Regions from separate parts of the Homo sapiens genome. Here regions 2, 3, 4, 5, 6 and 7 are each linked to region 1. Evidence: promoter capture Hi-C in 16 types of primary human blood cells and fetal thymus (Javierre and others, 2016). All regions are on one chromosome and are shown on one strand. Each heading gives the region's core, a stretch centred on a gene start or on the middle of the fragment in contact. The rest is flanking DNA. Distances are from core to core; before and after follow the strand shown. Region 1 holds the start of ZFC3H1 (zinc finger C3H1-type containing). Region 2 overlaps NAP1L1 (nucleosome assembly protein 1 like 1). Region 3 has its middle 13 kb from the start of PHLDA1-AS1. Region 4 has its middle 54 kb from the start of PHLDA1-AS1. Region 5 has its middle 17 kb from the start of DYRK2. Region 6 has its middle 5.3 kb from the start of KRR1. Region 7 has its middle 22 kb from the start of GLIPR1.

The links. Contacts are between HindIII fragments. The CHiCAGO score rates a contact against its expected background, and 5 or more counts as called.
Region 2: a fragment that was not itself captured here is called in contact with the fragment with the promoter of ZFC3H1 in region 1 in 3 of 17 cell types (total CD4 T cells, total B cells and activated CD4 T cells); the score reaches 7.2 in total CD4 T cells.
Region 3: a contact is called between a fragment that was not itself captured here and the fragment with the promoter of ZFC3H1 in region 1, in 2 of 17 cell types (naive CD8 T cells and activated CD4 T cells). The highest score is 10.4, in naive CD8 T cells.
Region 4: a contact is called between a fragment that was not itself captured here and the fragment with the promoter of ZFC3H1 in region 1, in 2 of 17 cell types (activated CD4 T cells and monocytes). The highest score is 10.4, in activated CD4 T cells.
Region 5: a contact is called between a fragment that was not itself captured here and the fragment with the promoter of ZFC3H1 in region 1, in 2 of 17 cell types (fetal thymus and activated CD4 T cells). The highest score is 5.8, in fetal thymus.
Region 6: a contact is called between a fragment that was not itself captured here and the fragment with the promoter of ZFC3H1 in region 1, in 2 of 17 cell types (naive CD8 T cells and total CD8 T cells). The highest score is 8.9, in naive CD8 T cells.
Region 7: a fragment that was not itself captured here is called in contact with the fragment with the promoter of ZFC3H1 in region 1 in 1 of 17 cell types (total CD8 T cells); the score reaches 5.3 in total CD8 T cells.

What each region holds. Positions count from the first base shown.
Region 1 is chr12:71,661,837-71,665,566 of GRCh38, reverse strand. ZFC3H1 (zinc finger C3H1-type containing) reads left to right here and starts at 1,719. Exons shown (of 35, transcript NM_144982.5): 1 at 1,719-2,554. The coding sequence starts at 1,957. It overlaps THAP2 (THAP domain containing 2), which reads right to left and starts at 1,266. Exons shown (of 3, transcript NM_031435.4): 1 at 987-1,266. The coding sequence starts at 1,057. RefSeq lists enhancers at 1,257-1,616, 1,066-1,624, 1,977-2,096. The HindIII fragment of the contact is 1,665 bases long and covers 1,117-2,781 here.
Region 2 is chr12:76,037,799-76,041,528 of GRCh38, reverse strand. NAP1L1 (nucleosome assembly protein 1 like 1) reads left to right here. Exons shown (of 15, transcript NM_004537.7): 15 at 1-3,730. Among named protein-coding and RNA genes, the nearest start is that of PHLDA1-DT, 7.9 kb to the right of the region's middle. The HindIII fragment of the contact is 1,280 bases long and covers 1,511-2,790 here.
Region 3 is chr12:76,015,484-76,019,213 of GRCh38, reverse strand. No RefSeq gene overlaps it. Among named protein-coding and RNA genes, the nearest start is that of PHLDA1-AS1, 13 kb to the left of the region's middle. The HindIII fragment of the contact is 6,475 bases long and covers 1-3,730 here.
Region 4 is chr12:75,974,874-75,978,603 of GRCh38, reverse strand. No RefSeq gene overlaps it. Among named protein-coding and RNA genes, the nearest start is that of PHLDA1-AS1, 54 kb to the left of the region's middle. RefSeq lists enhancers at 353-402, 412-556, 433-602, 1-1,130 and a cis regulatory region at 478-491. The HindIII fragment of the contact is 3,115 bases long and covers 498-3,612 here.
Region 5 is chr12:67,630,054-67,633,783 of GRCh38, reverse strand. No RefSeq gene overlaps it. Among named protein-coding and RNA genes, the nearest start is that of DYRK2, 17 kb to the left of the region's middle. The HindIII fragment of the contact is 1,649 bases long and covers 804-2,452 here.
Region 6 is chr12:75,515,008-75,518,737 of GRCh38, reverse strand. No RefSeq gene overlaps it. Among named protein-coding and RNA genes, the nearest start is that of KRR1, 5.3 kb to the right of the region's middle. The HindIII fragment of the contact is 6,037 bases long and covers 1-3,730 here.
Region 7 is chr12:75,457,052-75,460,781 of GRCh38, reverse strand. No RefSeq gene overlaps it. Among named protein-coding and RNA genes, the nearest start is that of GLIPR1, 22 kb to the left of the region's middle. The HindIII fragment of the contact is 4,775 bases long and covers 1-3,730 here.

The sequences.
Region 1 (3,730 bases), core at 470-2,969:
GAGGGTTAGAACTTTCTGGATCCTTAGCACAATGTCAGGTAATTAGGAACTCCGTACATATTTGATGGATGAATGAACAAAGCACTACATATGCATGAACTAGTTTAAAAACAGAAACATCACAAGATTTTTTTTAAGTGGCAGCTTTTAATAAAAGTACAGTTCGTAATAGGTAGGGAAAAAGGTCAAGGATATAATTTCTACATACTAACATATACGTTGTTAGGTATATAAAATATATAAAATCAGGACTGGTGTCACTTAACTTTTTAATGTGTCTTTTCTTCGGGCACGTGGCAGGCACTTGCAGAGAAGGTAAACATTTACAGAGTACCTGTTATTTTCCAGGCATTGTTCAAAGTGCTTTCAAGAGTTCTGGTTTGACAGAACTAAAGAATTTTGATTTTTCTTCCAGCAAACAAAAGAAAACCTAGGTTCTTTTTATTACTCTATTCTAGTAAGAACAGAAAGGTTATCTTTTGCACTTTAATTAACATCGCTTAATTCCATGGCTATCAAAGATGACTCAATTCCTCCGCAGAATTACTATGTGACTATTAGAAATCTAAATGCCTCCCATGTCAATTCATCTAGTGAGAATTTCCTAATTTTAACGGGAACACAGCAGGCTTTTACGGTGATTGCTGATTGGGAAGATCTCTTTCTCCCTTACGGCGTCATTCATGTCAAGGCCCGGTCTAACAGAGGAATAAAACAGTAGAAAATTACGATATCCTCCTGTTACTTTTTTTTACTAAGGGGTAATGACCAAACAGTACTTGGATTTCTTTTAGAAAATGAGTAAAGCTTCCCCGAAAGCAGAGAACAATTGGGCAGATTTGAGAAACACAAAGGACATACGATGCTTCCCTGCTACCAGCTGGGAAAGTTATTAGAATTAGCAGAATCCTCCTGTTCCTTCCACACAAGCGATAGCCACAATAGGAACTCCAGTTTCCGTCACCCCCACTCCCTGCCCAGGTTACCTGTGGAAGCTGATGTTAATGTGCTTGTTGTAGGTAGTGGCACAGCCCGCCGCAGCGCAATTGGTCGGCATTTCCCTTTCCCACTCATTCAGCGCCCTTAGGTCTCTACTGAGGCGCTGGCTGCTAAGCTTTCTTCTGGCAGAGGCTGGACAATCGAGGCAGGCGTGCCTTAATCGTGAGAGCTTAGTCGTGAGAGCGGAGTGGGAAGAAGGGGTGTGTATGTGGGGGCGGAGGCGAAGGACGGTCAGCCTTCCCTTTCTCTTTATTAATATGGCCGACTAGAGCCCACAGAACTGGCCCTCCTGGAGCTCTAGTCGCCTTCGCTTGACTTCACCAACATGGCGGACACAACCCGTTCTTTCTCCCCGCCCCCAAGAGGGAGCGGATCTACTGCGTTTCTTTGGCAGCGGTCCTCAGAGCAATTAAAAGGAAGAGGTGTTTTCCCCTCCGATTACTATAAATTACAAGAGTTTTACAATAAAACTCTCTCAAGGCTGCAACAGCAGCTCCACCTACTTCTGCATGCACCCAACTGTACCAAGCCAGACCCTGCGGTGGGTGTGACCCTAGGACCGGAAGAGTAAACCCGAAGAAAGACGAAAGACTACAAATCCTAGTGAGTATCGAGTTGGTCTTATTATCGCGTGAACTGGGAGCCTTTGTTTCCTGCGTGTCGCAGGAAGTGACGTTTCGGGTACAGCCGCTACCAGAGTCCCTTTCTCGCGAGGCGGAAGAACCCCGATCGCTGAGGAGCAAGGGGGCGCTAGGAAAGGGAACTGGGTTGCGACGGTCCGGCGAGAGAGAGCTGGGGTGCTGGGGTGCGGGGAAGTTGGGGAGCAGAGGCCGCTTGGTGTCCGAGTAGGGTAAGACCGCACCGACCCAGTCCGTTAGGAAAGAAGGGAAACGAGGCAATTGTCGGGCGGATCCCCGGACGGAGGGCTAAGGTTGTGTGGAAGGCGCTGCTCCCCGGATGGCGACCGCAGATACTCCGGCCCCGGCCTCCAGTGGCCTCTCGCCGAAGGAAGAAGGGGAGCTTGAAGATGGGGAAATCAGTGACGACGATAATAACAGCCAGATACGGAGTCGGAGCAGCAGCAGCAGCAGCGGCGGCGGGCTGTTACCCTATCCGCGGCGAAGGCCTCCTCACTCGGCCCGGGGCGGTGGATCTGGCGGAGGCGGTGGCTCTTCCTCGTCATCGTCCTCTTCTCAGCAGCAGCTGAGGAATTTCTCACGCTCGCGGCACGCGTCTGAGCGGGGCCACCTCAGGGGACCCAGCAGCTACCGACCCAAAGAACCGTTCCGGTCTCATCCGCCTTCTGTACGGATGCCTTCGAGCTCACTGTCCGAAAGCAGTCCCCGGCCGTCTTTCTGGGAGCGGAGCCACCTCGCCTTGGACCGTTTCCGCTTTCGAGGCAGGCCTTACCGGGGTGGGAGTCGCTGGAGTCGGGGGCGAGGAGTGGGTGAGCGAGGAGGCAAGCCGGGGTGCAGACCTCCTCTGGGAGGAGGAGCAGGATCCGGGTTCAGCAGCAGTCAGAGCTGGCGAGAGCCCTCTCCACCTCGGAAGAGCTGTATCCTTAACGTGGCGGTCGGCGCTGGGTGTGTCACTAAAGTTCCCTTTAGCGTCATTACTAGGTCTGTGAGACGAGTGTAACTTTGAATCATCAGAACCGCTTATTTCTCCCTGTGTCAGTATACTTTAAGTTGTTCTTTGGTAATTCCCCATGTGTCACACTATAGCGTTATTCTTAAGACTGCTTCATTGGGTATATTAACGTGCTGTGGATTGGGTTAAGCTTATGAAATCTAAGACAGTTAAGTCTGATTTGTAATAATACCTTAGAAGCCCAAGTTTCATTAGCATTTGTATTTTTGCTGGTACAGAAACTTTGTGTTTTATATGAAGTTGACTTGGATTGTTAGAGAAAAAATATTCATAAACAGTTTAAGTAATATTGTTGCTTTATCATATTGCAGTTTGACGTTGAAAATTGTAAAGTTTTAATCTGCACAGTCCTGCACTATTTTTGTGATTCTGTTTTTATCTTGATTTATTCCGGTTGCTGCCTTTTAAAGTGGGGGGGGGAGGGGTAAAAAAAAAACAACTCTGGTGTCTTTACCAAGTCTGTTTCAGAGCTTTTTGATTCATTTGATCTTTTTGGAACACTTTACCTCCTTTACGTTTCTATCTGTGTTCACTTTTGCACATTGTGTAACTTCGTGCTGACTAAATGAGGGCCAGAGAGAGAAAGATAAACTTATCAGCATTTTTATTTTAATACGTTAGAGTGGAGGAATGTGTATGCGAGGGTGGAGATTACGGGTAAGTTGAGAAAGGAAATAGTAACATTCCAGATTTTTCCTACTTCTAACCTTATTCTCAGTTTTAAACATTACTGAGTTTACTCAGCATTTATACAGAGGAATCAATCATCCGAAGGTTTCCTGTTTTATAATGGGTTTGTAAAACACTATCTTGACTTAATCTGTGATCATTGCAAAAATTGTTTAAAGACTTTCATTACTGGTTGTAATTCACATAGTGTGATGATTTTTAATTTCGTTATTATATATGAAACTTAAAAGTAATGACAGTTATTTGGAAGACAATCAGAATTACTTTTATAGAACACTTAGGTCCAGAATAGGTCTTTCTCAAATGTCATGATGTAAAAGGGGCAAGGAATGTACATTTAGGTGAGAAACAGCAGCTTCTGATGCTAGTTCCCTGAAAAACCTTACTTCTG
Region 2 (3,730 bases), core at 901-3,400, 4.4 Mb before region 1:
CTTCACGGCAACTTGGAGATGAATAGCCCACTGTATTTAACCTGCATTTGCACTATTTCAGCTCTGCTTGGCTGCCTTTTCTTTTACTTCTGCCACTGGGCTTTTGTGCATGTGTTTTACTAGTTCAACATAGGATCTCCTTTTCATCAGTACCTACTCTTTGGTTCTATAAATCTGAACTGGTTTTGAACCAGTTCAAAATACTCTAGAAACACTTGCTTATTAATGAGTTTCCTAATTTCCAGCACTGTGCTTGGAACTTGGTAAGTGTACAGAAAAGTTTTGGATGTATAGGTCAGTTAGGATTTATCTAGACCCATTCAATGTACCAACCATAATCCTGTGTGGGACTGTGTAGCAAGTCGAATGATTGATTCTCAGTAGTTCAGTCTCTAAGGTCTTTTGTAGTTGTCATATTCCTGTAGATTGAGAAAACCAATGAAACAAAGCTGGATTGTGTATACAGTTAGCTCTTTCATAATGCAGGGGCTAGGGGCCCCAGCTTCCTTCAGTCAAATCTATGTATAAGCTGATTCCCCCAAAACTTGACAGCCTACTGTGGAAACTTTACCAATAAGTCATTTAACACACACTTTGTATGTTATGTGTATTATATACTGTAAAAAGTAAGCTAGAGAAAATGTTAAGCAATCGGAAATATATTATGGCCAGGTGTGGTGGCTCATGCCTGTAATCCCAACACTTTGGGAGGCTGAGGCGGGCCAGTGACTTGAGGTTACAAGTTCGAGACCAGCCTGGCTAATATGGAGAAACCCTGCCTCTACTAAAAATACAAAACTTAGCTGTAGGTGGTAGTGGTGTGTGCCTGTAGTCCAAGCTACTCAGGAGGCTGAGGCACAAGAATTGATTGAACTCTGGAGGTGGAGGTTGCAGTGAGCCCACAAGAATTGACTGAACTCGGGAGGTGGAGGTTGCAGTGAGCCGAGATAGTGCCACTGCACTCCAACCTGAGCAACAGAATGAAACTGTCTGTGTGTGTGTGTGTGTGTATGTATATGTATGTGTATGTATATTTACTCTCAGGTGGAACTGGATTATAACAGTCTCAATCCTCACTGCCTTCATGAATAGCTGAGGAGGAGGGGGGTCTTGCTGTCACAGGGGTAGTAGAGACAGAAGTAAACCTGTAAGTGGACCCTCTTAGTTCAAATTTGATATTCAAGAGTCAACTTAGTTGTTTTTTAAAGTCAAGGGAAGGCATATCAATAGTTGCAGTTACCTAGTACTGCATAACAAAACAACCTCCAAAACTTAATGGCTTAAAACAAGCAAAATTTTTCTGACTGGGCTTAGTTTGTTGCAGTCGTTTTCCAAAATGACCAAAGACATCAAAGCTTAAATTACATATTGTATGCCTGTTCAGGGAGAAAAACATATGCTTTTCCCCATCATTTTGGAATCTTTTACTTGAATTATAGCTGGACAATTGATTTCCAGCTATAATTCAAGCTATAACGTAGTGAACTCCCTCAGACAAAAATGTCAAGCTTGATTAGTAAAGGAACCTCAAGTGGTATGTATAAGGTGACCCTTAAGTACACGTGTTTTCAAAAGTTGGGTATAATGTAACTAGACTGAGAGGTTTCGAGAAAAACTTCATTGCTATTCCATGTATAGTTTTAAACTAGTGGGATTTCAGTTTACAGTATTAATCAGCAATTTGGGGAGAACTAAGTGTTCGTTTAACATTAAGATAATAAAAATAATGCCTTAATCATACTTGATTGAGAATATTAATTCCCTTTTTATGCATAAGGATGGAAGTTAAGTAACTTTAACAATGACACAGTTGAGTTGTGTTGGAGCCAGCATTTGGATGGCCCTACACTTTGCACTGCCTTGTAGATATTTCTGTCACACAACTAGTGGTTAAATAAGCATGTTCTTTAGGCTAGAGCTTTCAGAGATGAAATATTTTAGAGACCAGAGTTAATCTAGATTTCATTTTAAACAATATTCAGATAATCTTTCCTTTTTCTCTCCCCTGCCCTGAAGAGTTTGTATTTATTATAATGTTGTATAACACAGCCCCAATACAATGTGGCTTATATAGGTTTTTCTCTTAGGCTTAGACAGACTCTGGGACTGATATGGGAGCTTCATGGTTCTCAGGCAGACTTTCATTCTACTTTTTGTCTTTGGCAAGTTGGTTTATTATCAAGTGGTTGCTGGGGCTCTATACATCATGTCCAGGTTCAAGGTACAGGATGGGCTGAAGGAGGCTAAAGGCTACTGGCATCCAACCTCTCCTGTAAAAAGAAGAACCTATGGTTTATGCTCACAGTGCTAAAAGTAGGATAGTAAATAAAATAGAGCTGGGTGTGAATGCCAAGGGAGGTTAGGATGACAGCCACATTGGCCACATATGTCGAAATAAGTTGATTTAGAAAAGGATTATTTGATCAAGGATATCCTGGAACATAAAGCAAATAACTACATTTTAGAAATAAGTGAACAGGGCTAAGAAAAGTAATTTTCTTTAAATACGGCCCAAAAGGATTAATTATGATTGGAGTCCTGCTTTGCCCAAGGCTTTTTATTTCATTTTGCATGATAACCTTTCTCAGAACCATGCATGCACAAATTAGGTTGAGACAATGACTTAAAAGTGTAAATGAAATCTCATTAGAAACAAAAACTTTCTGGTTTCTGACATGTTTAAGGGGTGCTCATTGTTACTCAACAATGATTTACTTAGGTAGTTATTGTGATGGGGGCGGTTCTAATGGGATTTCTTTTTCTGGTAGGTTTAGTGGCAACATACAAGCTTGCCATAAACATTTCCTGGGTTTTATCTTCTTGTAAAAGTGTTATTCCACCTTTCTGAGTCTGGCTACCCCACAGAATTCTTTTATCCCTTTTACTCTTAGATTACCTTGTCTGTAATGAAACTTACCCTCTCTGAAGCCTGAGTTGTTCTTCTAAAGTAACACCACTACCACCTTCTTTATTCTCATGTTTTTGGGAGGAATTGTCTACACTCACTGCTATATGTCCTCTATCACCTAAGAAAGGTATTTGCCCATTACTGGATTTTTTTTTCTTACAGAGATCAATAGTGATCAAATTGAACAGCCTATGTCCTCAGGCTGTGTGTTTTGTGGCAATGGAAAAATGACAGCAAAAGAGGGAAATATCCTTGGAATTTAGTTCCTTAAATGGAGGTATTTGCCCAAGTGACTGTCAGTTACATATTTGAGTTGCAAACAACGGGTTGCATTTACCGGGTTTCAGAGTAGAAGCATACTTAGGAAAGGTGGTAGGTGTTCTTGGGCTCTTCAGTGGGGACAGAGGATTGCTTCCACTCTTAGTTACTGGGGTATCTTGTCACCCCAGAGACCCAGAGCCAGAATATCAACACTTTTGAGTGATTGCAGTTTTGTGACAACATAATACTGGTTCTCTCAGCCTCCTTCATTGGATTACCTTCCTCTCTGCTCCATTTCATCCAGTTCCATATTTTCGTTTGTCACTTCAAAGCTAATATTACCATAACAAGTTTACAAATAATCAGACTTCCTGGTTACTTGTTAATACTCAATAAGATAGCCTGCTTGCCCATTTTGAATAATATCAATACATTTCCAGACAAAACATTAGTCATTTCCCCTCAGTTTAAGTGCTGTCAATCAGCTCTCCGTTAGGTACAATGGCGAAAACACTCATCCAGGATCTTGGATATTTAGTGAAGTAGACGTGAAAATTGGAT
Region 3 (3,730 bases), core at 436-2,935, 4.4 Mb before region 1:
TGCTTTTTATAAAATGTTAGGCAATAATCTCTCTCCTACCTGCAGAAATACTGCAGAAATACACACACACACACACACACACACACACACGCATATATATATACACACACACACATTTTCTTTTTTCTTTTTTTTCCCTCTTCTCTCTCCTTCTCCTCCAGAAGTATATTTTGAAATGGACTTATTTTAAAATGTGGTTGTTAGAATATATTCTTTTAAAAAAGCCATTTGAAATTGATTTTATCTTATGACTCCTAAAATATTTGTGGAATGTTTCCTGTTGCTAGTCACCCTCAGGTCTTGAAATTACCTGTGGAGTTGAAAAATGTTGAAGTGATTTGAATGTTTATACAGTTACTTGAGGAGGTAGCTGCCTAGATTTGTAGCCTGTGTAGGTGTTGGGAGAAATATTTTCTGAAAAGGTTGGTTGAGGGTAGTGGATCTATGGGCACTGGTGAGATCCTAATACGTGGAGTGATAAAAATTTGTTGCTGCCCTTCTGGGCAACTAGGTGAATGCAATTCACATAGCTCCAAATTAAACCATAAATAACAGTTTTTGACCTACCTAGGATATTAAGAACTTCAAACCACACAATGTTTTCTTGTGTGCTTCTTTTACTTAAGGATTTAACTTGGAGAAGATTTTAGAGTTTGTAATAACTTTTCATGAAAGGATAGGGAGAAAAAAGGAGCAGGATCTTTAATAAGTAGATGTACTTCTGCATCCAGCAATCCGGCTTTTAATTCAAAATTGTGTATGTGCTCTGGGTGATGCCAACATTTCCTCTTACATAAAGTGACCTTTTACGGGGTTTCATTCATAGCACTTGGCTCCCTCCTGGAGTCACAGTGCTTGTCACAAGGCAGTGGATTGCCTGCTGGTTCTTATGCAAGTGATGACTGGGAGGGCTGATAGGGGGTAACGCGGACAGCCTCTCTCTCTGACAGCAGATTGTCAGCATTCTTGACCCGGGCACTCTAAGAGCCTGGGAAAACACTTTGATTTCAATGTGGCTTTAAAAAATGATATTCAGTTGAACCAAATGACTGTGTAAAATAGGACCACAGGGCAGGCCAGGAGCGGTGGCTCATGCCTGTAATCCCAGCACTTTGGGATGCCAAGGTGGGCGGATCACCTGAGGTGAGGAGTTCAAGACCAGCCTGGCCAACATGGTGAAACCCCTTCTCTACTAAAAATACAAAAAATTAGCTGGGCTTGGTGGCAGGCGCCTGTAATCCCAGCTACTCGGGAGGCTGAGACAGGAGAATTGCTTGAACCCAGGAGGCGGAGATTGCGGTGAGCCAAGATCACGCCATTGCACTCTAGCCTGGGCAACAAGAGTGAAACTCCGTCTCAAAAAAAAAACACCCTGTTGTTACAGATAAATCAAAATAAGTGTATTAAGATAAAGATTTACTTCTCTTTTATGTAAAAGTAACCTAGATGTGGGTGGCCCAGGGTGGGTAAGGTGACTTTAGTTTGTCACAGATCCGGGTTCCTTCTTTCTTTTCTCTTCTACCACCCTTGGTACAGGACTTCTAGCCTCATGATTCAAGATGGCTGCTGGAGTTCCAGCTACCATATTCGAGCTCTAGAACAGGAAGAAAGAAAATTAGGGAAACAGCAGCTCACTGCAGCCTCAACCTCCTGGGCTCAGGTGATCCCCCTGCCTCAGCCTCCTGAGAAGCTGGGATCACAGGCACGCACCACCACACTCAACTAATTTTTAAATTATTTGTAGAGACAGGGTCTCCCTATGTTGCCCAGACTTGTCTCGAACTCCTGGACTTAAGTGATTCTCTCAACTTGGCCTCCCATAGTGCTGGGATTACAAGTTTGAGCTACCATATCCAGCCTAGAAAAATTTTGGAATCCCAATATGGTGACTTCCACTTAACACCACATTTGCTATCCAGGGTTGCAAAGGAGGGCTAGAAATGTACTGGCCAAATTGCCATCCCAAATAAAATTAGGGTTCTGTCAGCAAAGAAGGAGGGGAGAATGGTTATTGGAAAGGAAACTAGCAGCCTCTATTATAGGTCTTATTAGCCTCTACTTAATAGATAAGAAATTGAGGATTGGGGAACTGAAGAAACTTGCCAAATAAACAGCAGGATGAGAATTGTTATCTGGGTATTTAACTCCACTGCCTTTGCGCTTAAACGCTATGCAAACTGTGGCTGTGTGCTAGCACTAAAATACGATGCAGACCTCTCTCAGAGATGGGAATGCTCTTAAAGACATTAATTTAGAGTATTTTAGGTATTCTTTTTTTTTTTTTTTTTTTTTTGAGACGGAGTCTTGCACTCTCACCCAGGCTGGAGTGCAGTGGCGTGATCTCGGCTCACTGCAAGCTCTGCCTCCCGGGTTCACGCCATTCTCCTGCCTCAGCCTCCCGAGTAGCTGGGACTACAGGCGCCCACCACCACACCCAGCTAATTTTTTTTGTATTTTTAGTAGAGAAGGGGTTTCACCATGTTAACCAGGATGGTCTCGATCTCCTGACTTCGTGATCCGCCCGCCTCGGCCTCCCCAAGTGCTGGGATTACAGGCGTGAGCCACCGCGCCCGGCTATTTTAGGTATTCTTATAATTCTTACTAAGGTTTACACTTTCCTTTCTCATATGGTACTGTTGTAATGATTTTCAATTGGTCCTTCGTTACATCTGAACAATTTAAATAGAACAAAACTAAATTTCAAAACAGAAATACGTAGTTGCTTTCAGTGCCTTCCTGTCAGAGTCATATTGACATGGTAAAGATATAAGAAAGATCGAAGGTTCTTAGCGGAAACTGGAGCAATAAAGCCAGAGACACCATCAGTGGTGCTTGCTGGTTTTGCAGAAGCTAGCTCCCTTAGAGACGTCATGTCCAGCACCAATCACAGAGTCTATCAAAAGATCCAAATCAAGAAAACAGGAGAAGAATCTCAGGCTTTTCATTCATGCTCAACAAGAGGAGCATGCTTTTACACTATCCCGGGAGATTCCTCAAGGGTCAACAAAGAGTAGTAGAAAGAATCCTAGATTCTAGACTTGGCTTTGCCGTTAACAAGTTGTGTGACCCTGAGCACATGATTTTGCGTCTCTGGACTTTAGTTTCTTTGTCTTTAGAGTAAAGATATTCTTCAATTGCCCTGTTTCAGTTGTAATAGTTTACAAGTAGTGATTTCTGTACTCATTTGCCTTTCTTTGGAAAGACTACAACTTTGAATTTGAAGGACCTGGATATGACTCAGTGCTGACTCTCTTAAGCTGTGTAACTTTGCACAAGTCACCTAACATTTTTGAATCTTAGTTTTCTTACCTGTAAAATAGGTATAATAAATCCTGTCTCATGGAGCTAGTGTGACGATTAAAATAATGAGATGTGAGAGAACTTTGTCTCCATTCAGACAAAACATCTAGAAAGTGCTTGTCTCCACTGTCTGCTAAAGAGCATCCCCATTTCATGACCCTTCCTTCCTTCTTTCCTTCCTTCCTTCTTTCCTTCCTTCCTTCTTTCCTTCCTTCCTTCCTCCTTCCCTTCCCTTTTCTTTCTTTCTTTCTTTCTTTCTTTCTTTCTTTCTTTCTTTCTTTCTTTCTTTCTTTCTTTCTTTCTTTCTTTCTTCCTGTCTCTTTCTTTCTCTCTCTCTCTCTCTCTTTCTTTCTTTCTTCCTTTCTCTTTCTTTCTTTCTCTCTCTCTCTCTCTCTCTCTCTCTCTCTCTTTCTTTCTTTCTTTCTTTCTT
Region 4 (3,730 bases), core at 806-3,305, 4.3 Mb before region 1:
CTCATGGCCTTTTCAAAATGCAGTCGTTGGCTTTCATCTTCTTAAATGTGACTCTATCAAATCCATTCCAACTCTCATACTGGCATTAGTTTGGCCTACTTCCTCTAACGCAAGCCAAGCAAATTCTCCAAATACCAAATATAAGATGGAGATTCAAAGGTCATTGTTTTCTTCCATGCCATTCCACTCCACTCCCACCCCCAGCCAGCAGGGTAAGGGTTCAGATTCCTGCTTAAAACAACAGGTCAGTGGGCACTGCCAAATCATCCTCAATGCCGTTTCAACTGCTAAGTTTTCTGTATCACAAAACCAATGTTTATCCTGTATTTGCAACCCCTGAGCTGCGTTCTCTTGCCCTGATTCTCTTGCTCTTCCCTGCCAGTGAATTTGCATCATTTCTGTGTGTGCTTTGTTTGACTGCCCTGACTCCAGTTCTGCTGAGACTGTCTGTGGGTGGTTTCCCTGTGCAGAGATGACAAGTGCAAAGGTCAGAAGCTTCCATGATTCATTTCCTCTTTGCTGCACGCAGTGGATGGTTTTCTGGGTGAGTCACTCAGATGCCAAACACAGGAGGGATTTTCTTCACATAGAGGCCCTGAGGCTCTGCTATGCCCTGAATTGGAGGAGGAACTGAGTTCTTAATATTTCCTGAAAAATTGTGTATTTTTTCCAATGATTTCATAAGCCCATTTGTATTCCCTTTCTTTGCATCTGATGACTCTGATTTGCGAATGCTGCGTACCCCTTGGAGAACATTTTGGTATCTTGTAGAGCTTCACTGAGTTCTGACTCAAGAGTAATTGGACTCTTTGAAATATACCCCAAAAGCCTGGATGCAGTAGCTCACACCTATAATCCCAGCGTTTTGGGAGGCCAGGCGGGAGGATTGCTTGAGGCCAGGAGTTTGAGACCAGCCTGGGCAACATAGTAAGACCCTGTCTCTCTCTAAAAAAAAAAAAAAAAAAATTACGTGTGTGTGTGTGTGTGTGTATTATGTTTGTGTGTATATATCTCAAGCATATTCCTGTATTAAAACATTCCCTGGTATGTTATCTATACAGGAGTATTAACAGCAGTCTACCTGTGGCTCTTCAAAAATCCACCCTCCTAGCCAGGCACAGCGGCTCATGCCTGTAATCCCAGCACTTTGTGAAGCCGAGGTGGGCAGATCACTTGAGGTTAGGAGTTCAAGACTAGCGTGGCCAGAGTGGTGAAACCCCATCTCTACTAGAAATACAAAAATTAGCCAGGCGTGGTGGCGGGCACTTGTAATCCCAGCTATTCGGGAGGCTGAGGCAGAGAATCTCTTGAATCCAGGAGGCAGAGATTGCAGTGAGTCGACATCGTGCCACTGGCCTCCAGCCTTGGGTGACAGAGTGAGACTCTGTCTTAAAAAAAAAAAAAAAAATACTACCCTCCTCTTCTTCTTCCAGAATAAAAATCTATGGGAGGAACAAGAACATCAACTGAGGATGATGGTAATGTTGCAATACCTAGGGCTGAAACCTACAGCAAAGTATTATTTTCTCAATGAAGAGAGGTTATTATTTTCTTTTTTTTAAACCTTTAAAAATTATGAAATAGAATATGCAAACAGAAGGCATAAGTGTATAGTACAATGAATAATTACAAAGTGAATACCCTCCATCAAGAAATGGAACATGGCCAGCCCAGACGTCCCTCCTTTGTTTACCTTCTAGACGTACCTCCCTTCTCCTGTCTTGAGGTATCCACTACCCTGATTTTTGTGGTAGTCATTTCCTTGCTTTTCTTACCACCTATGTATGCAAGGTTGTTATTTTGTAAAGCAGTATCAATTCCATCTTCTGCCGGTGGCACTATGTAATTCACTTGTATTAAGTAGCGACCACAGGATGACTTTGGGCTAGAGTGGTATATATCTATTCTCTCCCCACCCTAAAATTCCATAAAAATGCTTATCCATGTCTACTGTGTCATGAACTAATAATACTCCTGCTAAGACACATGTTTAAAGTAATGACAGTGAAGAGGTAAAATAAGCACGAAATTTTCAGTGGTCTGTCTCCTGTGCTCTGGGGTTCCTGAGCTGCAAATAGAGTTAAATGATCTGTGATGGGAATATAGAAATCCTCCCCGCCAACCCCCTGCCACCTCTTACTATCCCCTCTCTCTGATTTCCCTGGGAAATATCCCAGCAAGTTGTAAAATCTGCAGAACTTGGGCATGAAAAGGATCTATTTACAGGTCCTGAACTTTCCCCTTTTGGTTTCTTACTTTGAGAACATACAGGCTGTTTCAGCATATTTCTTTATCAGGGCAACTCACCCCAAAGATTATTTGATCTTCTTTAGTCTGACATGTTCTCTGCTGAGCTAGGAAAAGCAGCTGAGTGGAAATGGGACTTAAAATGTAATTCTTAACCATTTTTACTTCCTCGCCTTCCTTCTCTTCCTTGATTGGCTCAGGCAGGTTTGTAGAGGCAGAAAAGGAAATTAACGTTTATTACACCCCTATTTTGTGCCAGGCACTTTTGAGTCCATTATCTTATTAAATACAACACCAGGAGATACTTATTTTTTTTTGTTGGCTCCATTTTGTAATGGAGGCCACTGCATTTCAGAGCACTTAAGTAACTAAACATCATTATGTAGTTAGAAATGGCCATAATGAGGAACTAAACGGTCTAACTCCAAAGCCAAGTTCTCTTTCTTCTCTATCAAGCTGTCTCTTATTTCACTTGCCTGATGACCTTGGAGTGCCCTTGGCAACCACTTTTTAAAGGAGGGTCTATTTTTGTTAGGCAGAATGAAAAGTTATTGGGTTTATTAGCAGTAATGGGTTCAAGGTCTCAGAGTTTTCTTTTTTTTTTTTTGAGACAGGGTCTTGTTGTGTCACCCAGGTTGGAGTGCAGTAGCGCAATCACTGCTTACTATAGCTCCAACCTCTCGGCTCAAGTGATCCTCCTGCTTCAGCCTCCTGAGTAACTGGGATCACGCCCAGCTAATGTTTTTATAATTTTTAGTGGTGACGAGGTCTTGCTATGTGCCCAAGCTGGCCTGAAGCAATTGTCCCACCTCAGTCTCCCAAAATGCTGAGATTACAGGTATGAACCACCATGCTGGCCTCAGTTTTCTTCTTAAGAGCACTGGCTTAGGGCTGGGTGTGGGGTGTGGTGGCTCACACCTTTAATCCCAATGCTTTGGGAGGCCGAGGCAGGTGGATCATTTGAGGTCAGGAGTTCAAGTCCAGCCTGGCCAACATGGTGAAACCCTGTCTCTACTAAAAATACAAAAATCAGCTGGGCCTGGTGTTGCACACCTGTAATCCCAGCTACTCGGGTGGTTGAGACAGTAGAATCACTTGAACCTGGAAGGTGGAGGTTGCAGTGAGCCAAGATCATGCCACTGCACTTCAGCTTGGGCAACAGGGGGAAAAAAAAGCACTGGCTTAGGCTTCGGAGCCACCAGGATGAAAGGCTTCAGGTTATGGTAGTTTCATAAGGGATGGAGGAGGACCGTCAATCTTTGAAGCTCATGTTTGATCCAAGGCCACTTTCTGTGTTTCCTTACATCACAGGTCTGGCTGCCTCTGTGATCTGGTGCCCATAGTCTGTAGGAGACATTATAAGCTTACTGTAAGAAAGCCTAATTAGAAAACAAAGACAGCATGGAGGGGATTACCCTGGAAACATTCCTTGTGCTATAATGCTATTCACTGTGGAGTACAATTTGGTGAAATGCCCACCCCT
Region 5 (3,730 bases), core at 379-2,878, 4.0 Mb after region 1:
AGGTAAATGACCAACCTACATTCAGCAGCTTCCTCTTGAGCCAAGCTTTTCCAACATCACTTTTTCCTCCATAGCCCTCCCCATGCATCTTTTCCCCTAGTTGTTAAAAGTTTTCCTGAAATGATTTGGGATTAGTATAAAATGGGGGCGAGAGTGAAGTTTACTAAAATTATCCTTAATCTCTCTAACTTCGAAGTCATTTTCTATTTTCATTTCAAGCAATGAGGACTTTTTAAATTCCCTGAAGAACCTGAGGAAATTTTGATTTATCACTGATGAGACCAAACAAGAACCCTACTCACCTTTTGAAACTAATCTTGTGAAAAGACTAAGCCAGAAAATATAAATGCCTTCCCTACATTTAAAATACCATAACTCTGACTTTTTCAGAGGTCATCCAAATGTTAACATCAACGATCCAGAACACAGCTGAAGAGCAGAAGGGACTTTTTAAAGACTTGTAGATAAACACAATTGGTGTCACAAAATCCATGCATTGCAATCCATGAATTTTATTAATGAAAGAATCATCCATTCTTTTACTCAAAAACAATCCATAGCATGGTACAGTGGTCAGATGGCCTGAATACAGATTGTGTCTCCCCTACTTACTAATTATATGAACTTGGCAAGTTTCTCAAGCTCTTTGTGTCAGTTCTCTCACCTGTAAAATAGTATTTTCATTGTAGGGTTCATAGAGGATTAAATCAGATTACCTATTTAAAATTCACAGAACAGAACCTAGCACACAGAAAATGCACAAGTATGAGCTATTATTCTTTGATACACCTTCCTATTAAGCTTAGAAATCTGGTTTCTCAGGCCATTGCATGTTAGAGTTAGCAAATTAAGAAAGGTGGGAGGGTGATAGTAAAAGATCCACTGACTATTTTCAGTAAGGAAAGAGACAGAAAAATTGTCAAAAGCAAGCAAAGGATCTAAAAAGCATAGCTGCTTTAAGCCGTAGAGCACTGAAGTAAGATGCTCTAGACCAACAATAATCCTAAAGTGTTAATGCAACAGATGTGATGGATGATCTTTTGCAGTGATTAAGAAATAGTTCAGTTTTGCTCTTTATACTTAACTCTAATTTGTGAAGCAAGAAAGAGTGCAGTAATTTTATAAGTATCTTAATTAAAATACTTAAAACAATTTGGTTGCTTCTAAGGAGCATGTTTTAGTTATATTGAAAGTCTACTTCTTGGCATTTAACCTGCAGACTTAATGTGCCTGAATTAGGTAAGAAACCATTAATAACTTCAACAATACATGCATGTGTGAGCCTTTTAGTATGATAGAATATAAATGATTTTGAAATGTCAAATGATAATATATACAATAGTCTGACACTAGAGTCACAAATCCATCTGAAGATGTTGTACTCATTTAAACTTGTATTTATTACATCTAAGATGTATGCCTAACCCTGCACCAGGCATTGCAAAGAGGCACAAAAGATGTTTAAAATAAACTCCCTCTCCTCAACGAGCCCATCAGCCCATCCGGGCAATGAACACTGAACTCCACAGTGCTTTGTTTCCCTGGCTGCCTCCTGTGTTTATCCAAAGTGATTTGAAGGCTGTCTGAACTCTTGCTCTAGGCAGAATTGAGTGACACTCTGACACTTCCAGTTCATACTGTTTCCAGACTTCCGGAGCTTCTGCCATTACTTTATAGTCTTGCCCTGTTGGCTCCCTGCTCCTGCTGGGGGAACAAAAAGTCATTTTCCTGCCTTAACCATTAGCTGGTAAGGGTTTTAAGATATTACCCCCACTCTAGGAATGTCTATTCTCTCAATTAATTTAGAGGAGAAAAATGAAGACCCTCTCTCCTCCAAATCTATAGGTATAGGTAGAAATAAAGCCACCACAGGGCAAAAGATTCTTAGGAAATTTCCCTGGAAGATAGAACATTTCTCAGATTCCTCTCAAATCACAGTGCTTGAAGCATGGTCCAGAGGCCTGCTTAGGCTATGAGAATGAATCGAGTTTAAGCATTCCTTCAAATCTATCCAATTGTCTGGTATTCTTGCTTTTCAATGAAGATTTCCAGATAGAATGATGGAGAAAATGAGTTACTGGGAAAGACTATGAAATAGCCTTAGTCATAATGAAAATCTCTCCTTCCACTTGTTCATTTCAGTCAGAACCAGTCGTTTTCCATCAGCTTATATGATTTCTGAAACCCAACATCCTTCAGAGGAATATTCCAGGAGAATCTTATAAAATGTCAACCTATTTCAGAAGCAGCAGAGCGTAACTCTACCTTATTCCACATCATATTTAGTTTAATGGTGACTTAACTTTCAGAAGATTTATGCAAAAGTAGTAATAAAAGTTGACAACTTTCATTTGTAAAAATTCTGAAAAGGAAAGGAATTATTTTTATTCTATTATTTTGCTTTTCCTCTGCTAGTATTTGAATAACATGATTTCATACTGCAACAGAAGCTTCAGGTCATAAAAAAATGGTTTCTTCTGTTTCTTCTGTGTAGGGGAAATCATTGTCATAACTATGTAGGGATTTAATGGCTCAGTTTACTCAATAATTAAAACTGTTTGTATGTAAATGGCAAAGTTAGAAGTTGCAAAGTTAGAAATTACAGATCAAAAGCAGCCTGCAGATATGTTTTGTTTGGCTTCCACAGTGTTTTTTGAAAATGTGAACTAAATGCCAACATTTAAAAATCAGGAGATTTCATGTAAATATCCAGATTTCTGGCTTTTCTGGAAATAAGGCAAAATCTGTCTGCACTGTGCTTCCTCCTAGTCCTACTTGGCAACGGAGAACATCCCCCACCTTTTGTAGCTTCAGCCCTCCCCACTTCCCACCAGTGCCTGCCCTGCAGGTCACCGCAGTCCCCACCACTTCCTGTTATTGTGTGTGTGCTAGGCTGGCTTTACCCATTGACATTACCACCTTTCTCCAGCAGGCATTTAGATTTTTAATTTTACTGTAAGCTTTGTATTTCCTGAGATTTTCTCACCGCCATTTCTCTGTTGCTACAAATGTATCCTGACATTTCTTTCTTTTCATTTCTTATGCTCCATTTCTTGGTGCTACTGCTGAGACTAACAGAGGTCAATTGTAATTTGGGCATTCACGCTGAAGCCTTTCAAACTAGTTTGTGCATAAATACATACCTGGCACAAGAAACATTGTTTTCTCTTGTGCTTGAAAATCAAACCGATTTATACTTAGCACCGAAGAGTGCGAAGACCCTAAAACCACTGCCTGTGTAATAGCTCACTGCAGTAAAATCTTTGGTTTTACTCTTTGGTAACCTCTTGCAGCTTTTCTAGACAGAGTTAGCTCTATTTTGGGACTCTTTTTCTACATCAGAAGCACACAACTGATATCTTACTGTTACTAGTTTGCTTTTCCTGAAAGCAGTGTTGAGGTTCTGAACTTCTTGTAGAAGTTCATAAACATGGTTTGCACCAAGAAACAATTCAAATGTCTCATTACTACAGAAACACTCAGCTATAAGTAATATATTCAGAACAGAGATGATGCTTAAAGCAAACTCTTTCTTTGATATACTTTAAATATTTGTACCCTCTAAATTTTATGTTATAATTTGTTCCCCAATGTTGGAGGTGGGGCCTGGAGGCAGGTATTTGGGACATTCAGGATCTTTCATGAACATTTGTCCTTGCATAATAACTTAGTTCTCCCTCTGTTGGTTCCTGGGAGATCTGATTGTTAAAAAAGAGCCTTGCACCTGCCC
Region 6 (3,730 bases), core at 705-3,204, 3.9 Mb before region 1:
TATCTGATCTTTGACAAACCTGAGAAAAACAAGCAATGGGGAAAGGATTCCCTATTTAATAAATGGTGCTGGGAAAACTGGCTAGCCATATGTAGAAAGCTGAAACTGGATCCCTTCCTTACATCTTATACAAAAATTAATTCAAGATGGATTAAAGACTTAAATGTTAGACCTAAAACCATAAAAACCCTAGAAGAAAACCTAGGCAATAGCATTCAGGACATAGGCATGGGCAAGGACTTCATGTCTAAAACACCAAAAGCAATGGCAACAAAAGCCAAAATTGAGAGATGGGATCTAATTAAACTAAAGAGCTTCTGCACAGCCAAAGAAACTACCATCAGAGTGAACAGGCAACCTACAGAATGGGAGAAAATTTTTGCAATCTACTCATCTGACAAAGGGCTAATATCCAGAATCTACAATGAACTCCAACAAATTTACAAGAAAAAAACAAACAACCCCATCAAAAAGCGGGCGAAGGATATGAACAGACACTTCTCAAAAGAAGACATTTATGCAGCCAAAAGACACATGAAAAAATGCTCATCATCACTGACCATCAGAGAAATGCAAATGAAAACCACAGTGAGATACCATCTCACACCAGTTAGAATGGCGATCATTAAAAAGTCAGGAAACAACAGGTGCTGGAGAGGATGTGGAGAAATAGGAACACTTTTACACTGCTGGTGGGACTGTAAACTAGTTCAACCATTGTGGAAATCAGTGTGGCGATTCCTCAGGGATCTAGAACTAGAATTACTATTTGACCCAGCCATCCCATTACTGGGTATATACCCAAAGGATTATAAATCATGCTGCTATAAAGACACATGCACACGTATGTTTATTGCAGCACTATTGACAATAGCAAAGACTTGGAACCAGCCCAAATGTCCAACAATGATAGACTGGATTAAGAAAATGTGGCACATATACACCATGGAATACTATGCAGCCATAAAAAATGATGAGTTCATGTCCTTTGTAGGGACATGGATGAAGCTGGAAACCATCATTCTCAGCAAACTGTCGCAAAGACAAAAAACCAAACACCACATGTCCTCACTCATAGGTGGGAATTGAACAATGAGAACACATGGACACAGGAAGGGGAACATGACACATCAGGGCCTGTTGTGGGGTGGGGGAAGGGGGGAGGGATAGCATTAGGAGAGATACCTAATGTTTAAATGGCGAGTTAATGGGTGCAGCACACCAACATGGTACATGTATACATATGCAACAAACCTGCACATTGTACACATGTACCCTGAAACTTAAAGTATAATAAAAAAAGAAAATAAAAATGTGTCAACGTTATGTACTTGAGAAATCCTATCTAGATTATTAAAAAAGAAAATAAAGTTAGCAAGAAAGTAGATTACTGTGCAAAATTAATTTTTATCTCTGATAAATCAGTGTAGAAATGTTAAATAAAAATAAACCACATTTATTTGCCATTTTCCTGTTTGCTTTAATAAGAGATAATACACTCTCCAAAGACATTGTTAAATCTCATCCTTACTCTTTCTTTCCCCTCTACCCTCTGGTTACCGTGAGAATTAAGGTCTTTAATTCCAAAGGAGAGTTGTTGTGAGGACAATCTGTGCTTTCCCTGGGAAAATGAATAAGCAGGGTAAGAACAAGTAGAGCAGATTTCTCACAGGAAGATGATTGTGGCTGCATGTGGGTCTAGATTGCTTAAGAGGCTAAAGAGGAGAGAAGTCACAATCAAAAAGGGCATGCCTATAATCCCAGCACTTTAGAAAGCTGAGGTGGGTGGATCATCTCAGTTCAGGAGTTCAAGACCAGCCTGGCCAACATGGCAAAACCCCATCTCTACTAAAAATGCAAAAATTAGCCGGGCATGGTGGCAGGCGCCTGTAGTCCAGCTACTTGGGAGGGTGAGGCAGGAGAATTGCTTGAACCCAGGAGGTAGAGTTTGCAGTGAGCTGAGATGGCACCACTGCCCTCCAGCATTGGCAACAGAGCGAGACTCTGTCTCCAAAAGAAAAAGAAAGGCCTGCCTGTGGCTGTGACCCAAGGGCTTTCCAATCTAGATTCTAGATTTGTGCCAAGAAACCCTTTAGAGATGTCCATTTTTCTTTCCCCTTTTAGTGTCATTTAAGTACATATTCTATTTGCTTATTTATTTACATATTTATGTTCAGATTTCCTAGGATGTTAAAGAAAAATGATGTATATTGTGATTGATTTACAACTGTATTGCCATTTAATTGCCATACTTTGAAATGTCTCTATACTGAGAGGTAACATAGTCAACATTTAGATGACCATCTTTTCATACAGAAACACACAAACACACACACACACACACATACAGTTGTATGTAAATAGTATCATTTTATACATGCTATTTTATCATGGACATCTTCTTCTGTCTTTTTGCCTAGTTTCATCTTCTTTTCTAATCATCTTCATCTCTAAGTTAGCCAGTCTTAAAATCTTAATGTGTATCTGTCCCAATTTTTTTATTGTACAATCACATACAAACTCATGTATTCATATATTATATTCAGCACATAGAATATAACCAAGTATTTAGAACAGTGTCTTGAATGTCATAGATGCTCAGTAAATATTTGTTGAATAAATGAATGGTTTGCCTTAGAAAAATGAGATCATATTATATATACGTGTGTGTATGTGTATGTTTATATTACATATCTGGCTTTTATTGCTCAATATTCTATGTATTTTTTCATATAGATTTAATTCTTATAAATGGTTGTATAATAGCCCATGGTTATGAAAGTAATATCAATTTATTTAACTAGATCCCTAATTGATAGTTTAAATGCTTTTACTTTTTGCCAGTATAAACAATAATAGCTAACACCTATTAAGTGTTTATCATGTGCTAAGTTTTTTTTTTTTTTTTTTTGCGCTTTACATGTATTAAGCTACTGAGGGGTTAGGTTATTCTCCCCATTTTAGAAAACTGAGCAGGAGTAGGTAAGAAACGCCCCAGGCTATATAGCCAATAGGTGGCAAACTAGTCAGTATGGCTCCAAAGTATATTTCACTAAACTACTTTTATAGAAGGTAGTAATCAACACTATTGTAGAAACATTCTAATTGAATGGTCCTTTATTTCTATTCAATAGTTTATCTGGTGTGGAATTACTGCAGAACCATATGTGTGTATTTTATATTGCTAAATTGCTCTGCAAAAAGGCAGTAACAGTTTACATTTGCACTAGCCATGTATGAGACTATTCTTTCCTCTAGCAGTATTTTTTTTAAATGTATGTTTTTTATTTCTTTTCTTTTTTTTCAATCTGGTGGGTGAGAAGTGATATTTCATTGTTAAGTCTGTATACTTTGTTGACAGTAGTGAGGTTGAACATCATATGTTCGTCAGTCATTTGGATTAGCTCTACTATAAATTGTTGTATTAGGGCTCTCCAGAGAAACAAAACCAATGTGTGTGTGTGTGTGTGTGTGTGTGTGTGTGTGTGTGTAATTTATTTTTATTTATTTTAAAAAATTGGTTCACATGATTATGGAGGCTGGCGAGTCCAAAATCTGCACGGTAGGCTGGCAGGCTGGAGACAAAGACAAGACAATGCTGCAATTCAAGTACAAGGGACTTCTGCTGCACAATTCTTCTTTCTCAGGGGAGGTCAATGTTTTTGTTCTATTCAGGTCTTCAACTGATTGGATGAGGACCACCCACAGTATATAGAGGACAATCTACCTT
Region 7 (3,730 bases), core at 883-3,382, 3.8 Mb before region 1:
ATCTGGATGTCTGCCTCTCTAGCGAGATTAAGAAAGTTTTGTTGAATTATTCTCTCAGACATGTTTTCCAGTTTGTTTACCTTTTCTCCTTTCTCAGGAATGCTAATAAGTCATAGGTTTGGCAGCTTTACATAATCCCATATTTCTTGAAGACTTTGTTCATTTTTAAAAATTCTTTTTTCTTTATTTCTGTCTGACTAGATTAGTTTGAAAGACTGGTCTTCAAACTCTAAGATTCTTTCATCTGCTTGGTCTAGTCTATTGATAAAGCCTTTCATTTTACTTTGAAATTCCTTAAGTTAGTTTTTCAATTCTGGAAGCTCTGATTGATTTCTGTATAAAGATGCTTATCTCTTCCTTCATTTCCTGGAATGCTTTCAAAGCTCCTCTGTGGTGATTTTTAACCTTGCCTTGAATCTTGCTGAACTTCCTTGCAATCTATGCTTTGAATTATTTATCTGTAATGTCTGAGTTTCCATTTTAATTAGAGACCACTGCAGAAGAGCTAGTGTGATGCTTTGGTGGTATCACTCCATTCAGATTTTTCTTGATGCCAGAATTCTTGCACTGGGTCCTTCACATCTGAAGATGTTGGCACTTCTAATTTTCATAATTCTTTTCATGTGGGTAGGATTTATTTTTGTTACTTTCCCTATAATTTTTTTCCATTTTCCTTCCCCTCACCCTTGGGGGTGTGACTGTAGAGAATGTTGAATAGGGTGTTTTGGCTTTGCTTCTACAGCTCTATGCACTTTTGTCAGCGGGTTTTATATTAGGCTTTGTGGTTTAAGATTCAAGCCAGTAGATAGCATTTATGGGTAAGAGCTGGCTGCAGCCAATGTAGGTGGGTATATACATGATCATTGTTTACCGGGAGAAACTCTTTGTTGCCTTAGGCAATAGGCTGATCGGCAGAGTGTACAGTGGTCTGAGCTCCCTGCTTAGTGTCTGGAAGTGGGGAAAGATGGGTGGTGCCAGAATGGGAAGGCCTGCCTACAGATTCCCCAATGGCAGGCACAAGAACCAGTGCTGAGGGAGAATCCAGGGAGCAGCCCCCAAGCACTTAGAGGTATCTCTAGGCTTGGAGCTGGGAAACCTCCTTGGCCCCAAGTTCTGTGTACCGAGAGGGGGTTGCAGCCTAAACTTCTAATCTAGGAGAGTGGGTGCTCCAGAGGCCTGGAGATATGCTTGGATGTGGTGTGTAGAGGTCCCCACTGCACCACAACCTCTTCACAGGAAGAACCGGGTGGCTTACCAGTCAGAATGGCTATTATTAAAAAGTGAAAAACAACAGATGCTAGTGAGGCTGTGGAGAAAAGGGAACACTTAATACATTGTTCAGCCACTGTGGAAAGCAGTTCGGTGATTTCTCAAAGACCTTAGAACTATAATTTCACCCAGCAATCCCATTACTGGATATATATCCAAAGGAAAATAAATCATTCTGCAAGAAAAGATACATGCACTAGTAAGTTAATCACAGCACTGTTCACAATAGCAGAAACATAGAATCAACCTGGGTGCCCATCAATGGTAGATTGGGTAAAGAAAATATAGTATGTATACATCACAGAATACTATGCAGCTATAAAAAAGAATGAAATCACATCCTTCAAAGCAACATGGATGCAGCTGGAAGCTATTATCCTAAGTGAATTAACATAGGAACAGAAAACCAAATACCACATGTTCTCACCTGTAAGTGGGAGCTAAGCATTCGGTACACATGGATATAAAGACGGGAACAATAGACACTGGGGAATACTAGAGTGGGGGAGAAAGAGAGAAGGGGGATGATTGAAAAACTACCTATTGAGTGCTATTCTCACTACTTGGATGACAGGATCATTCATACCCTAAATCTCAGCATCATACAATACACTCATGAAACAAACCTGCACATATACCCCTTGAATCTAAAAGTTGAAGTTATTTTTAAAAAGTATATTTGCTTTAAACAATCCTCTTCTGATACCAATTATCCTAAGATAATTATGATGGCTAAATTTTTAAAATTATTATAAATTCCAATAGGATATTCTTTCTTGTTGTGGGAAGTCAGGGAACCCAAATGGAGGGACCAGCTGAAGCCACGGCAGAATAACATAAATTGTGAAGATTTCATGGACATTTGTTAGTTCCCCAAATTAATACTTTTATAATTTCCTACATCTGTCTTTACTGCAATCTCTGGACATAAATTGTGAAGATTTCATGGACATTTATCACTTCCCCAATCAATACTCTTATAATTTCCTATGCCTGTCTTTAATCTCTTAATCCCATCATCTTTGTAAGCTGAAGATGTATGTCACCTCAGGACCCTGTGATGATTGTGTTATCTGCACAAATTGAAAAGCATGTGTGTTTGAACAATATGAAATCTGGGCACCTTGAAAAGAACAGGATAACAGTGATTTTCAGGGAACAAGGGAGATAACCATAAAGTCTGACTGCCTGCAGGCCAGGCAGAACAGAGTCATATTTCTCTTCTTCCAGAAAGTGAATAGGAGAAATATCGCTGAATTCTTTTCTCAGCAAGGAATAACCCTGGGAAAACGAATGCATTCCCAGGGAGAGGTCTCTAAAATGGCCGCTCTGGGAGTGTCTGTCTTATACAGTTGTAGATAAAGGATGAAATACACCCTGGTCTCCTGCAGCGCCCCCAGGCTTGTTAGGATTGGGAAATTCCAGCCTGGCGAAATTCTAGTCAGACCGGTTGTCTGCTCTGGGACCCTGTTTCCTGTTAAGATGTTTATCAATGACAATGTGTGCCCAGCGGGACATGGACCTTCATCAGTAATTCCAGTTTCACCCTGGCCTTGTGATCTCGCTCTGCCTCTCTGCCCTTGTGATACTTTATTGCCTTTGAAGCCTGTGATCTCTGTGACCCACTCCCTATTCATACGCCACTCCCCTTTTGAAATCCATAATAAAAACTTGCTGGTTTTGCAGGTCAGGGGCATCACAGAACCTTCCGACATGTGATGTCACCCCCGGAGACCCACCTGTAAAATTTCTTTCTTTTGTAGTCTCTTTATTTCTCAGACCAGCTGACACTTAGGGAAAATAGAAAAGAACCTACCTTGAAATATTGGGGGCTGGTTCCCATGATAATTTCTAAATAAACATGCAGAAATAAATAAAATTAATAGGTAATGCTGGTATGTATAAGTACTTACATGATTTTGAATAGCACTGCTAGATTTAGTCATTCATGAGTTAAACTTGTTAGGCATCTAAATTTGTCAGGCATCTGAGTGTTTATATTACAGGGGGGAAATACATGATGTAAATAGTCAAAGAGATAATGTAGGCCATATAGTGCGATAACATTGTATTAATGTTTATATTATTCAGCTAAACATTTTTAGCTTAATTTCACACTTCTGAGAAACATTATTTTGAAGTTGCTCAACTCAAAGGAAATGGTGGTTTCAACAGCAGTTTTGCTGTTTCCTTTGAACATTTTGATTGCCAATTTTTTTCTCCTGTTTTCTTTTTGCAGTTTCTTTGCTAAAATAGCTTTTAAAAAATGTCCTGTCATCAGTGGCTCCAATGACAGCTTTTTTTACATACTGAGAAAATTATTCAATTTTTAAAATTATACATACATACATTCAAATAAAAATAAATTGTAAGAAAATAATGTTTTAAAAAGTGTAATGTATTACCATTGCTATGAGTAAAATACCGTTGTTTATCTCTGACCTAGAGGTCTTGTATTTTC